Linked DNA regions of Homo sapiens: all the other regions are linked to region 1. The links are contacts of gene promoters, found by promoter capture Hi-C in blood cells and fetal thymus (Javierre and others, 2016). All regions are on one chromosome and are shown on one strand. The core of a region is centred on a gene start or on the middle of the fragment in contact, and the rest is flanking DNA. Distances in the headings are between cores, read along the strand shown. Region 1 holds the start of TMEM72 (transmembrane protein 72). Region 2 has its middle 54 kb from the start of LINC02658. Region 3 overlaps LOC105378275 (a long non-coding RNA gene).

What was found. The method cuts DNA at HindIII sites, captures the fragments that hold promoters and counts their contacts. A CHiCAGO score of 5 or more calls a contact.
Region 2: a contact is called between a fragment that was not itself captured here and the fragment with the promoter of TMEM72 in region 1, in 9 of 17 cell types (naive B cells, naive CD8 T cells, total B cells and 6 more). The highest score is 13.3, in naive B cells.
Region 3: a fragment that was not itself captured here is called in contact with the fragment with the promoter of TMEM72 in region 1 in 2 of 17 cell types (fetal thymus and total CD4 T cells); the score reaches 7.0 in fetal thymus.

What each region holds. Positions count from the first base shown.
Region 1 is chr10:44,909,041-44,913,987 of GRCh38, reverse strand. TMEM72 (transmembrane protein 72) reads right to left here and starts at 2,651. Exons shown (of 5, transcript NM_001123376.3): 1 at 2,406-2,651. The coding sequence starts at 2,475. All of the region lies in intron 2 of TMEM72-AS1 (TMEM72 antisense RNA 1), which reads left to right. RefSeq lists an enhancer at 4,549-4,947. The HindIII fragment of the contact is 1,552 bases long and covers 1,502-3,053 here.
Region 2 is chr10:43,722,701-43,727,647 of GRCh38, reverse strand. No RefSeq gene overlaps it. Among named protein-coding and RNA genes, the nearest start is that of LINC02658, 54 kb to the left of the region's middle. The HindIII fragment of the contact is 1,927 bases long and covers 1,307-3,233 here.
Region 3 is chr10:43,816,498-43,821,444 of GRCh38, reverse strand. It overlaps LOC105378275 (a long non-coding RNA gene), which reads right to left. Exons shown (of 3, transcript XR_945906.4): 3 at 2,701-2,938. Among named protein-coding and RNA genes, the nearest start is that of LINC00619, 26 kb to the left of the region's middle. RefSeq lists a silencer at 4,678-4,878. The HindIII fragment of the contact is 3,340 bases long and covers 611-3,950 here.

The sequences.
Region 1 (4,947 bases), core at 1,402-3,901:
GCCTGGTCCCTGCAGGTGACACTCTGAGTGCCCTTGGGTCACATGTCTTCCTAGCTTTTAAGAAATCCACACTCCCCACCTCCCTAGGGTTTCTGCAAAGTGAGGCCCTCTATTTCCGGTCTTATTTCCTCTCTAGCAGCAGTGCCCTTGTAAATGAAGCCTGGATTTCTCAACAGAAGATTTCAACAAAAGAGAGGCTTAGGAGAATAAGGAATTTGCAAATCCTATGTACTGGAAATAGGCCAGGAGTTCAGTGATGCTGGAAGAAACTCGAGATTTGCCCAAGAACACCAAACCCCTCTCTCTAGCCTCCCACTCCCTCCCAGCACTCTAGAAAGCCCGAGCAAGATCATTTGAAAGCCTGGCCATTAGAAGGGAGCTCATGGCTATTTTTAGTCTGAATCTCCTATCAAAACCAAGAGGGAGGCCCATTCTCAGCATTAACAGCAGTCCCTGTGCGGAGATAAAGGCTGTGGTTAAGACGAGCCCTATGTGCGCGCGCACGGGTTTGTGTGTGTGTGTGTGTGTGTGTGTGCGTGCACATGGGAGTGTCAGGGGCTGCAGACTCTTCCGGTGACTGAGATAAATCAGACTGTTAAACTGTCTCTAGCTAATCCATTAGAAGGATAGGTACATACATCTTAGAACAGCCTCTCGACGGGAGGTGGGCCTCAGCTCTGGGTGGAGTGTGGCTGGGGGAACTGTGGGATTCTTGGCATTTTACAGATTTGGAAACCAAAGCCTAGAGGGAGCAGGGTGGACTCAGATCAACAGACATGGAAACCTATTTAGGGTGGCCTTCCTCTCCCCAGGATGGCTTTTTTGCTTGTTGGGGGTCTTGGCCATCATTCTCTTATGTGTAGACGACAACGTGGTTCTGAAAGTGGCTGGATCTGGCTCCTCCCTCAGTGCCTCCACTCAGAGCCTCAGCAGAGCAATTCTGAACCTCTTCCTGCTGCCTACTCTGGAAGACAGGGAAGGTTTTGGCCAGAGCCCTGGCCTTTGTGAAAGTTGAAGGACCAGGGCTCCGGGCTGGCTGTCCCTCTGACCATGACCTTGGGCAAGGTCACCACCTGCATTTGAGCTCAGGTGCCCCATCCTGTAGCAGGAGGGGTGGGGTTAAACCATCCAGCAGCCCTTCATGATCTAACTCATGGCCTAGATGCTGGAAGAGCCCACTGGCCAGCTCACGGCTGAACCCAGCCCAGTGCTCCTGAAATGACCCAGCTTCCCATTGAGCTCTGGAGTGTGTCATGGGGGCTTCTGCTGAGAGGTTTTCATCCTCAGTTCCACTTAGCCATGCTCAGTTCCTGCATCCTTAATCTGTCCAAACACCTGGCCAGCAGGTCCCCATCATACAGATCAGAAAGTGCAGCCTCAGAGGGGTCAGGGGCTCCCCAAGGTCATATATCACGCAAGTGACTAGGCTGGGGCAGGAACAAGCACTATGTGATTTTGACCTAGGAGAACTTTCCCATTTGGTAAGACCCGTGGGTAAGCTTTTGCCCAGTGGTGGGGAAGGGCTTTGATAGGGGGTGTGTCTCTCTTTGTCCCCAAGGGACAATGTGGCTCAGAGTTAAGGGCTCAGAATTCTGCCTGTTCATTTCCCCAAAACAGATCCTGGCTCTGTAGGGGGAATGGGGCTAAGGGTCAGGCCTGCCCTGGGGAAGCGAGCAGGCAGGGCTCAGGATGGTGGCTCTGGGCTCTGCTCTAACAGTCTGCCCTCCTGTCCAGTTGAGCAGCCCTGTGATTCTGCTGGGTGAAGGAAGGAGCCCAGCATCTCTGGGAAGCATCTCTGCTGCTAAGACCACAGTGCATTCCTGCAGTCAGACCTCAGACAGGGGTCTGGGTTCCTACAGGGTGTTCTGTTAACAGGGTCCAGCATGGGCCCGAGGGAAGCCTGTGATCTCCACGTCCAGCCAGGCTCAGCCTGTCCCTCCAGGGCAGAGCTGCTCATGACTGGGAGTTCTCTCTCCATGAGGTAGGGCTATGGTTTGAGTAAAGCAGGATGAGCTCAGTTGACCTTTTGTAGATACACAGCGAAGCCCAGCCCTTTCTATCTTCACCTTCTGTCTCCACCTCCATCTCATGACAACTCTCTGCGTAGGTGGGGTGGCCCCTGGAATCATTTTGCAGATGAGGATCTTGAGGCTTCCCAAGGTCACAGGGAGGGTGACTTGCCAAGCAAAGATCCAGCACCCAGCCCTCTGGTCCCCAGCCCTAGGCTCACCCCACTGCACTTGCTGCTGCTCTACAGAGCAGTGTTTCTAGGGGTCTTGGGAAAAAAATTGAAGCACAGAAGTGGCCAGATGTGCCTGCTGTCTCCTGGCCACCTCCCACCCCTCAGGCAGCCCTATCTGTGGTGCCAGTGTGCAAGGATCAGCAGCCAGGAGGCAGGGTCTTACCTGCAGCAGTGGTGATGCCCAGGAGCCGGCAGGTGTATTCCAGCCCAGTCCAGAACACCTGGAGCTGCATGGTGCCAGGGGTGAGGACAAAGTCCTGGCAGGGCAGGCAGCAAAGTCTTCGGCCCTGAGATGCTCCCGAACACCCTTGTGTAGGTAGGAGGCTGCTGGCTGTGGCTGCACACCGGGGCCCTGCCTTCCCAAACCAGTCCTGGCCACCGCAGCCTGGCCGAGGTGTGAATAGGGCTCACCTTCTGTGCTCTCAGCCCGTGCCCTTGCCAGGCACTCAGCTTAATCATTACCTTGGAAGAATGCTCCTGCTGCTCACACAACCCCAGCCTGGGCTGGAGCCGCTCAGCCCCAGCGCAGCCCAGCCGCCTGAGATCGGCGATTAGGGCTGGGCTGGAGGCAGTCTGGAGCTGGCAATTAACCGTTTCTGGCTGGGAGGAGGGAGCCAAGGAGTGGGCCAGGCCCTTCCTCACCAAGCCATGCCTAGAAAGTCACACCTGGATTTCACACTTGCTGGGGGCCTGTAGTGTCTGGCTCTGGAGGGGACAGTGCTCTTGCAGGTCTGTGCTTATGTGCATATGGGAGAGAGGAGTGTGTCTTTAAATCACCAGTAGAAACAACTTTTGAAATGAGTTCCAAGCTTTATTCTTCTGCGTATAGGTGGATTAGAAAGCTTTTCAAATCTGTCCCGGATTTGGACTCTGACTAGACATACTTAGCTCAGGCCCCGCCACGCAGAGGCCTTCCTTCCTCATTAACATGCATCCCAACATGGGACGTGGGAAATCATTTTGATTCTTTGTTTTGCGAGGGGAGTTGCTATGTCAATAATTAACCGGGTGACCTTGGGGAAACCCAAAGGCATCTGTGAGCCTTGGTAACTTTTGCAGAAAATAAATGTGAAGTTTTGGCTGAATTGGTGTTTTTGATGTACTTGGAGTGTCCCTGTAGCTGTTTCAAGGAGCCCAGCCTTTACACTTGGACAGTGGTGGGCTTTCCCTCATTCTTAATTTACTAACGGATGTGCTAGATTGAATGGTATTAAGATTTATCTCTCAGGTGTTTTTCTGAAATCTTTTACCCCTTTGCTCATATAAGATAGAAAACAAAACAACCAAATAAGGAAAAAAACTCCAAGCAAACCCAATACACATGCTCCTCAACTTATGATGGGGTTATGTCCCAAAAAACCCATCAGACATTGAAAATATTTTAAGTTAAAAATGCACTTAATCCAACCAACCTACTGAACATCAGAGCTTAGCCTGGCCTACTTAAATGTGCTCAGAACACTTAGTTTATGGTTGGGCAAAATCATCTAACACAAGGTTTATGTTATAAAGTGTGGAGTAGCTCATGTAAGAATATATTGTAGGGCATGTTGCTAGCCCAGGAAAACATCAAAATCCAAAATTTAAAGTACAATTTCTACTGAATGTACATCATTTTCACACCATCCTAAGTTGAACCATGGAAAGCCAAGGTCTGCCAATAATAACGGAAAACTCAAGAACAATTAGTTTGGCCCTTCCCTCCCCTCCCTTCCCCTCCCCTCCCTCCCCTTCTCCTTCCCCTTCCCCTTCCTTTCTTTCCTCTTTTCTTTTTTTTTTTTTTTTTGAGACAAGGTCTTGTCTGTTGCCCAGGATGGAGTGCAGTGGCACAATCTTTGTGGCCTCAACCTCCCAGGCTCAGGCGATCCTTCCACCTCAGCCTCCTGAGTAGCCGGGACCACAGGTGTGCACCATGCCTGGCTTGCATGTTTCTTGCTTGAGGATGATACACCCTCAACATATATAATGAATAGATATTTTTTGCTATTAAAATTATTTTAATTTGATTGATTAATTTGATCAAGAATCATGGCATTCCATAAAGATTACCGTTTTTTGTATTTTTCCGCCTTGAATGAGTTTAGGAACTTCTGTGCTCGTGTGATCTTCAAGATCAAGTTTATGAGTGTATGATTTACATATTTATTTCCTGGGTTAGTTGTTTTCTATTAGCAGACTATCAACTTCAATCTTCTTAAACTTTGACATATCTTGACACCACACACACCCACTCCCCCAAATGCAGGTGTTCCGGTCTCTGTGGCATATGCTGAATTGCACAGATGGAGCTGCGGGGGCTGGGCTTCAGCAGCGATGGCAGCTCCCTGTCCTTTAGGAACCCTTGATTTGCATGGGTCGGGAAGCTCTGGCTGGCCCACAGTGCTCACTTGCTTCTTGCTGGCCAACAGCCACTTATTTTTTTTTGTATCTGATGGTCACCTGCTCAGAAGATACGAATTCCTTCCGGGCCTGGCTTGGCAGGGACTGTTCAGTCCACAGGTTAGTCTACTGTCTCCCTTTCCCAGAGACTACTTTAGGAATGAGAGGGTGTGACCCAGTTCTGGTCAAATAGCCCAGACAGGGTGTGTGCTGAGGAGCTTCTGGGAAAGCCTCTCTTGCTTTTAACAAGAGGGAGAGGACCAGCTGCACTCCCTCCCTTTGGATGCACCTGCTCAGGGTGGCCAGCTGTCTCCTGTTGTGGCAGG
Region 2 (4,947 bases), core at 1,021-3,520, 1.2 Mb after region 1:
TGTATATTTTCAATTGACCTACCTTTAACTTCACTGATTCTTTTACCAGCCCAAATATCCCATTCAGCCTCTCTAGTGAACTTTTTTCAATTGAGTTATTATTTTCATCGCTAGAATTTCTATTGTTTTTTTGTATAATTCTATCTCTTGTTGATATTCTCTATTTGATGAAACATTATTCTCATACTTTCCTTTAGTTCTTTAGATATGGTTTCCTTAGTTCTTTATATTTAAAATAGCTTCGGTATTATTTAGTAAGGACAATGTATAGACTTCCTCAAGGACAGTTTCTGTTGACTGCTTTGTACCCCTGTACACGGACCATATTTTCTTGTTTCTTTGAATGTTGAAACTGGACATTTCAAATGATGTAATGTGGCTGCTCTGAAATTCAGGTTCTCTCCACTCCCTGGGATTTCTTTTTGTTGCCACTTATTGTTGTTCTTGCTGCTGCTGTTTGTTTGTTTTAGTGACTTTCCTGAATTAATATTGTAGACTCTGCCTTTTTGTCATAAATGACCGCAGAAGTCACTGCTCAGTTAGCTCAGTGGGCAGCTCACAATTGTGCATAGATTTTCTTAACTGTCTGAAGCCAGTAAGTCTCCCAGTCGTTGCCAAGGGATTGTGAGTACGTTTTGGGAAATGCCTTCTACACTCAGCCAAGTAGTTGACAGCTCTGCCTTAGGCTCTCCTTTTTGCTCTTCAGGACCTCAATATCAGCCAGAAGTGAGAACTTAGAGCTTCTCAGCTCTTTCCTGAACACATGCACGGCCCTGGGCATTTGCACAACCCTGTTCATGCAAGTGGCCTTCCAGGTTCCTAGGATGTGTCAGAGTTTTTCAAAGCCTCCTTTGGACATCTCAGTCTCTAGCTTTTCCCTTTGGGTTTTTATGGTCAGCTTGTCATTTGCCCCAACTATTATCATCACCTCAGGCAGCAGTGATGCTAAACCATCACCACTGATTGTTTTTGACAAATGTCACTGAGGAAAAGGTTATTTGCACTGGGCAAGCTCTGAGTCAGACCAAATAAAGACAACTCTTATGAGTGGGGAATGACTAGCAGGTCAAACAATGGCAGTTCTCTGGGAATGGGTCTTTGGAGAAGCTGCAGCCCCATTCTGGCCCCTCCACTGGCTGCTGGGCTGCTGTCTTTTACCTCTGCTGTGGGCTGTTGGCTTCCAAGGCTACTGCCAAGCTGTACAGGGAAGACAGAAATAGGGCTCGTTAAAATGTTACAAAGCTTGCTATTCTTACCACAACTTAGTGTTTTTCTTGAGTAAGTGCTTTCCAGATTGTGACAAGCTTTGTTAGTTTCCAGAGTTCTGAAAAAGTTAATTTTCACAATTCTTAGCAGTATTATTGCTAGTTTTATAAAGAGGAGGAGAGGGGTTTGAGATCCTTGCTCCACCATCCCCACTGACATCCTCTTCACATGCTGGTAGAACTATATTAGAGTTATAATTTTTGTTTTAGTTGTCAAACAAACTAGAAAACTTAGGAGAAGAAAAGACTATTGGGCTTAACCATATTTTTGTTCATCCTGTTCTTGCTTTCTTCCTGATGTTCTCAGATTTTTCTTATCATTTCCTGTTTAGAGAACTTCCTATAGCCAATCTTTTAGGGTAGGTCTGCTGGCAACAAATTATCTTAGCTTTCCTTCATCTTTAATGTTTTGATTTTCCCTTCATTCGTGAAGGATATTTTCACTGAATATAAGATTCTGGGTTGACAGTTCTCTTTTTCAGCACTTGTTATGCCACTTCTTTCTAGTGTTGGAGGTTTGATCTTGATTAATCTATTGTCATTTGAACTGTTTTTCCCTGTGGGTAAGGAGGTGTTTTTCTCTCTTGTTGCTTTCAAGACTTTTCTGTCTTTAGTTTTCAGAAGTTTGACTGGGGTGTGCCTTGGTGTGGATCTCTTTGGGTTTATCCTGTTTGGGGTTCACTCAACTTCTGGAGTTTTGTAGGTTTCTGGACTTCACCAAATTTTGGAAGTTTTCAACCATTATTTCTTGGAGTACTTTTTCAGTATCTTCTTCCTCCTCTCCAGGTGGTAATTATTCCATTTTTAATATTCTATCAGATTACTTTGTATCAGTCTATAAATATGCTGCTAGATAAGTATAGTTAATTATTTAGAATTTTTATCTATAGTTGTAAGTGAAAATGGTCTTGTTATAGGTTTGGAATTATGGTTGCAGTAGCCTTATAAAACAAATTGTGGAACTTTGTAACTTTTTCTATGATCTAAAACAGCTTAAAACAGAAATGACATACTATAATTAGCTCCTCTCAAAATCTATTTGAATTTGGTTCTTTTTTTGAGACAGAGTCTTGCTCAGTTGCCCAGGATGGAGTGCAGTGGAGTGATCTTGGCTCACTGCAGGCTCTGCCTCCCGGATTCATGCCATTCTCCTGCCTCAGCCTCCCGAGTAGCTCGGACTACAGGCACCCACCACCACGCCCAGCTAAATTTTTTTGTATTTTTAATAGAGACAGGGTTTCACCATGTTAGCCAGGATGGTCTTGATCTCCTGACCTCGTGATCTGCCTGCCTCAGCCTCCCAAAGTGCTGGGATCACAGGTGTGAGCCACCGCACCTGGCCCGAATTGTTTTTAATTAAAGCTATCTAAGTACTTTTCTCACCTCTTCTGTCACTTGTGACAGATCTGTTTAGTATTCTCCTCCTTCTTAGGTTAATTTTGGTGATTATCTTAGTCTATTCAGACTGCTTTGTCAAAATCTCATTAAGTGGGTAGCTTATAAACAACAGGAATTTGTTTCTCACAGCTCTGGAGGCTGGGAAGTCCAAGATCAAGGAAGCAGCAGATTTGGTGTCTGGTGAAAGCCTGCCTTCTGGTTTGTAGACAGCACTTTTTTGCTGTGTCCTCACATGATGAATGGGGTAAGGCGTCTCTCTTGGGCCTCTTCTGTAAGGGCACTAACCCCATTCATGAGAGCTCCACTCCCATGACCTAGTCATCCCCTAAAGAGCTCACCTTCAAATACCATCACCTTGGGGTTAGGACTTCAATGTATGAATTTGGGAGGGGACACAAACATTCAGACCATAGCAGTGGTTTACATTTTTCCTAGAAAATCATCTATTTCTTATATAATTTCTGTTCATATTTGATGTCATTGAGTTACATGTTATACTACTTATAATTTTTAATATCTCTGTTATATCTGTAGTTAGTTTTGCTTTCTCTCCTTTTCCTTAATCAAGCTTGTTGGGTATTTGTAAATTTAATTGGTCTTTTGAAAGAATCAGCTTTTGTATATTTAATTTGTCTTCCGTAAAAACTGTTTTTGGTTTTATTTATTACTGCTACTATTTTAATGTCATTAATTCTAACTTTCATCTTTGTCAATTGCCTCCTTCTACATTGTTCATTTCTTTGGTTCTTCACTTGGGTTTATGATGTATAAAACCAACTTCTTTTAGCTCCTCAGAGTCTCACTCCATGTGTGATTCAGTTTTCTGGGCTTCAAACCACCCAGGACATTGCTTAGCAAAGCAGGTGCAGCAAGAATGAGTGGATGAAATTATTGACATTGGATCTCATGGTACTGAAAGTCTCCTCATCTATAGCCACATGGCTGGGGTGCCAAAGAACTTTATGAGATGTGTATCTTTGCCTTCAGAGAGGTTAATTTCCCAAGAGTTGGGGTTGGAGGAGAAAAAGCCTGAAAGCCAAAGAATGCAAGGTCACATTAAAGTGTCATCAGAGGAGTAGAGGCTGCAAATCATTTCAGTTCTGCTGGGTCCAACCCAGTTCCTTCTTAGCTTCTCGTCTTGCATTCTGGTAACAAATGTGAGGACATCCAAGAAGAAGGCTATTTTACTCAAAATCCTGGTGCTACAAACAAGAATATTGCATACACTTGTCTAGTGGATAGAGCTTGTGACTTAAGCCCTCTCACTCAGGCATTGTAAAGGATGCTAGAGACACCGCAGGTACATTTTGGAGCTTGAAATTAATCAAAAGATCAACAACATCTCAGCCTTTTTGGAGCACCTTGCAAAATATACAAGTTTACAATATTCTGCTAACTCCCTCTAAACTCCTAAAAGCTCGACAGTGATTTTGTTCTCCCAATTTCCTGAAACCATCGTACCCACTGGATTGGACAACCTCAGCTGGTGGCCATGTGTGCTATAAGAATCATCCATTTTGGACATTAGATTTGGAGAATATTTCCCTGGTTCAAGCAAAAAAGCTCTTCTATCTTTCTGTCATAACAGTCATTTCCACAGTAAACTCTATAGGCCTCTTTGTAAATTTGGAGGCTAAGCAAAGAGGAGAGAGACATTTTCCCTCTTTTGAGAGTAGGCACGTGAGTACCTTAGAGGCACAAACAGCTCTCAAGACTCACTGTCATGCCGCTTGGTTTCCAATTCTTTGCTTTCAACAAAATTGAAGGAAAACCTAGTGAATTTGTCAGCTGACAAATCACTGAAAATAATATTTGATGATAGATTATGATTTGATTTTTGGCAAATACCTAGGAAAGAGTTCAAAGTACTGACAAAACAAAACTCCATTCTCATCTACTTACATAAAAGAGTAAAGGTTCTCAGGCTTAGATTTATAGAAACTGAAAATAAGTAATATTCATCTCTCTATGCATGAACTAATTTATTAAAATGTCCCATATATCTCCTTTAATACTAAATAAATAAATTTACCATAAAATTTTTACTTTTATATACTTTCTCCAAATTTATAATATTTTCATGGTATTTTCATCAATTGAATACTAATAATATTATAATAATTCAACTAACAATAAACATTCTTTTATTTTTTTATTATACTTTAAGTTTTAGGGTACATGTGCACAATGTGCAGGTTAGTTACATATGTATACATGGGCCATGTTGGTGTGCTGCACCCATTAACTCGTCATTTAACATTAGGTATATCTCCTAATGCTATCC
Region 3 (4,947 bases), core at 1,031-3,530, 1.1 Mb after region 1:
TCAACAAACACCGCTGAACAGGTACTACATACTGGCCAAGGGCTACATTAAGGCTAGGATGATGAGCAGACCACTCCCCATGCCCAGGGACAGATGAGGGGGATGGCCATGGTTCAGATGTATGACCACTTGGCCCAGTGCCAGCTGCTGGAAGAGTGGAGACTGGCATGGGCTGTGCATGGGCAGAGAGGTTTCCCCAGGGAAATGGCTGCTGTGGAGGGAGGGGACAGGGGTCAGGGAGAGCACTGGAGATGGCAGAAGCACCAAGGATAAACAAGACCTGGAGGGGAGCTCCCACCCCAGGGCTGGAAGGGGAGCCCCAGAGGCTCACGCCTGTGTGGTAATTTTCTCTTCCCCAACTGAAGTCCAAGAAAGACCTTGGAGAATAGTCAGAAGTCTCAAAAATCTAGCAGGTTGTAGCTTGGATTTGGGGTCGGGGAGGGGGTGGAGGTGGACATAAGAGCCTTGGAGGAGGTAAATTAGTAGAATTAGGAGAGGGGGTGCTGAAAGGAGGCTCGGGGACACTCTGATTATTCACTTACATCACTGAACCTTCACCACAGCTTCTCTGACATTTCCTGGATGCATTCATTAGATAGTTATGAAAGCTTCAGGGAGAGCTTGGAGACAAAAAACTATCCAGGCTCCTGCATGCATGCAAATATTATTTTCTTGAATTCAAATTTACACGATAAGTTGGCTGCAAGCAGAATTTGTTTACTTCAAAGCCCTGTGCATGCTCTCTGATAGACAGGAGGCTAAAATTAGCTTGATATATTTGTGGGCATTTTTTTCCTAATTTTAATTAGAAATTAAATTTAGATTAAGTTAGAATTATGTAATTAATCACAATTAATTTTTTTTTTTACCAGCACACTGCTCTGCTAATTTTCTAACTAAAATTTTAGTGCCACAGTACTTATAAGATTTTTTAATGCATTTTATTCACGGTTTCTTGTGTTTTTCCAAAGATAAGTTATTCTTTTTTCCTCTGAAATTTTCTTTTCTAATCTTATCAGTGAACCTTCCTCTAGTTATCAGGGTAATTCCTAATTTCCATTAAGCCCCAGAAGCTCTTCCCAGGACACACAGTGTATTTTCTTTTTCTCTTTATTCATCTTTGAATAAGTATGGCTGTCAGCTAACTTGTCTCAAGTGTCAATTTACATGGTACGTAAGCCCTGACCATCGATCTTTCTTTTTGTAAAGCCTCATCAAGATTATTTTTTAAAATCTCTCTAGCTTATTCTAAAGCATCTTCTAGAGAGTCTGGGAGGAATTCCTCTCATCATTTTAGGAAGACTGAGAACAACAAAGGGTCCACTAATCCCTTAGTTATGGAATGTCACATCCAATGGAAAAACACACAGGGCTGCTTCTGGAAGCTCCAGATCAGCCGCAGAGCCCCTCCGCCCATCTCACAGGCGCACCAGCACCAGAAACCAGCTCCACAGGAAACGCTCGGAGGCCCGCCGTTCACAGAGAAGGCCAGCCATCATGTTTTAAAGCAAAGAACATTCGTTTCCAGAAAGCTAAAAACCTAAGATGTGTGATAATGGAATCATTAATCTACTCTTTGGTGACCACTCCCACTCACTTTGCCCGGCTATAAATCATAAACGCTGTGAAATTGTCAGTGCATTGCGAGGGGCCTTTTGCAAAGGCCTCCTGCACCCCACACCTGACGCCGACAAGGGGTGCGGTCCCCCACCGCACCTCTCTGTGCTTCCAGCCCTGCCCCTCTAGGCACCGGAAATCACTGCCATAGGGGGGCCAGGTCCAGAGAGAGGCACCCACGAAGGTCTGGGCTCACCTTGGCCGCAGCTCATCTACTGCCGCTCACTCCAGACCCTCCCCCTGGCCCCAGACAGCCCCATTCAGGGCTCAGGGGTGTCCTGAGCACCAGGCAGGCTGGGCTTCGACCCTCTCAGCCTAACTTTCCTAACTTTCAGGATCTCGCCGTGTTGCCCAGGCTGGTCTCGAACTCCTGGGCTCAAGCGATCCTCCCACCTCGGCCTCCCAAAGTTCTGGGATTACAGGCGTGAGCCACTGCACCCAGCCTTACTTTAAAACTTAGCTTAGGAGTTTTAGTCCTATTAAGTCCTGAGGAAAATAACCCCTCTGTAGCATAAGTCTTCCCTGTGAGGCCTCTCCTGACCCTCCACCCTATCCGCCTCCAGGACGGTGGCCCTCCCCAGCAAGCCATCTACCTGACCCCCAGACAGAAGGCAGGCTCTTGAAGGGCAGGTCTGGATCCCTCTCACCACAACACCGTCACCGTCCCCAGGTCAGAGCACTTTGCAGGTGTGCAGGTGTCCCCCAGATGGAGGAGGCTCGCCCACAGGAACTCCGCAACCTGGGGAGACTCCCCTGTCAGCCTCAATTTGATTATTTTCAGCTCAAGGAGATGGAAATGTCGGGACTAAGGGGCTGTAAAGACTCTTTAATTCCTACAGCATTGTTGACAAGGAACATCTGGATCTCAACCTCAGTGTCCTTGCCCCAAGCAGCCAGGGACCCAGAACCATACTCACCTCCTCTAGGGGCAATAGCAGATGGGTGCCGGCCACCAAACGCCAGCTCAACCCAAGAACCAGCAATCATTTCAAGTAGGGCACGGGGAGAATCCCAACCCCTTGTGTTGGTTTTACTAGGACTGAGGGGGTGGGTCCACAGTGACATCCAAGTACAATTCTCATTTCAGTTGGGGCTGGTTCAATACTGACACTCAATGAAAAGCATCCTTATCTCATTCAGGAAATAGATTTTTCTTTCTGTTCTTCCAGAAGCATTATAAAAGGATGCCTAAATAATTTCTAGGCAAAGAGGGACTTTCTACCAAGGCACCTACAAACATCACACGCCCCTTTCCTTTCCCCTTTTGCAGTCTGCAAAGTCCATCTTCTACAAGAGTCATGCGGTGCTTGGCTCTTCCTTGCTGAAAAACAAAAAGCACGGTCACAGCCTGCTACCCTTGCTTTCTTCCCACGAAGGAGAAATTGTTATATAGGCATAGCCAGAATCCCCAAAGGGTGTCTACACAAATGCCAGAACATTCAGATCACACATGTTCTCTCTCTACACACATACACACACACACACACACGCACACACACACACACCCATCACACTGGTGTTGGAAGAATTCTGAAATATAAAAGTCTTAATATGGACCCTAGGCTGGGCATAGGGTGGCTCATGCCTGTAATCCCAGCACTTTGGGAGGCTGAAGAAGGAGGATTGCTTGAGCCCAGGAGTTCAAGACCAGCCTGGGCCCACCATGAAGAAACCCTATCTCTACAAAAATGAAAAAAAAATTAGCCAGGCATGGTGGTGTGTGCCTGTATTCCCAGCTACTCAGGAGGCTGAAGTGGGAGGATCACTTGAGCCCAGGAGGTCGAGGTTGCAGTGAGCTGAGATCACACCACTGAACTCCAGCCTGGGTAAGAGCGCAAGACCCTGTCTTACACACACACAAAAAAAGATGGACCCTGAAAATGAATAGGTTTCCACAGGCAAAAAAGTAAGAACGTTTGGAAAGGAAGAACCCTGTGATTTTGATGTTTAATGACCTGCCGGACAAGGACTGTAGCCACCTCAGGCAAGAGAGTCAGTGGGTTGAGTCCTGGCTAGCTGGTCACTAACTTAGTGGCCTTTCAAGGCACTTGGGCCTTGGCCTCCATTTCTGCATCTGTCTCTTGGGGACCATAGTGGTCCTAGGCCAGCTGCATCACAGGGTGCATATGATAGAAGGATCTAACTCCGAGTTAGAAGTGTCTTGCTAAGATATTATTAGTCATTTCTATTATTAAAGTCAAAGTCTAGCATTCAGAGACATTAGAAGGTCACGTTTGTGTGATGAGTGATTCAAAACACGGAAGACTTTGAATGCCAAGTGGATGAACAAGTAGTACTTACACTAAAGGAATTCATGAGAGAAAATGGAAGCTTATATTTATTGAGCAACTACTACGTGCCAGGCACAAGATTTTGTGAAACTGGTGCTAAATATTTACATTTTGCTGATGAGGAAGTGGGGTCTCTAGAAAAGGAGAGATTTCCATATTGACACACACCTGGTGAGTGTAGGAACTCTACCTTAGAGCCAGGTCTCTCTGTGCCCAAAGGGAATGACTTAGCAGAAGGGAAGGAGTGGAAAACATCCCCATCACTCTCATATCCTCAAGATCCCTTGTTAGTGCAGAGGCCCCTGGGAGCTTCTTACATGTGTGTTTTTAACCTAGTTGGCCTATTCCATTAGAGGCTGTTTTCCACTCTGTCATACCTCCGCCTTCTCTAATTCTGTTCTGGGACCACTTTCCACTTGGACAATTCATCCTCCTCCTTTGCACCCTTCCCAGTCTCCTTCACCTCCATTCCCATAAACTCCTGTGCATGTTCCTGTTACAACACTCAGCCTGCTGCAGTGGAATGCATCTGTTCTGTGCATTCTTTCAGGAAAAAATATTACGTCTTCCAAAAAATATGGAACCAACCACTAATTATGGCACATCTGCTTTGTTTCAAAAGTAAGTGTGGACAGGTCCAGGATGTTATCTCCAGACTACTCTGGAAAGCTCTCGGCATTCTCGGAACTCACAAAGGATATATGAGCAATTGCTCAGTGACTAGGCTGCAACCTGTTTCTGTGGGACTCCCACAATGGCCTCACAGCCAAAACTGTGGGAAGATCTAGGAAGAAGACATAGACTCCAACCTGGGTCAGACAAAGGGCGGAGGAAATAATTGAAAATCTTATACCAAAAACGTTAGAAACAAAAGTCATTCTCAGTGCAGAAGAGTAGCAGAGAATCATTTAAAAATGTGCATCCCTAAGAGGCCGAAGGAAAAGGAGCAGAGGCTGAGCAAGAGTCCCTGTGTGACAGGAAAAGCTGTAAGCAGTGTCTGCGGCTTTCTCTCCCCAGCCACATCCGCCATTCTCTGTTA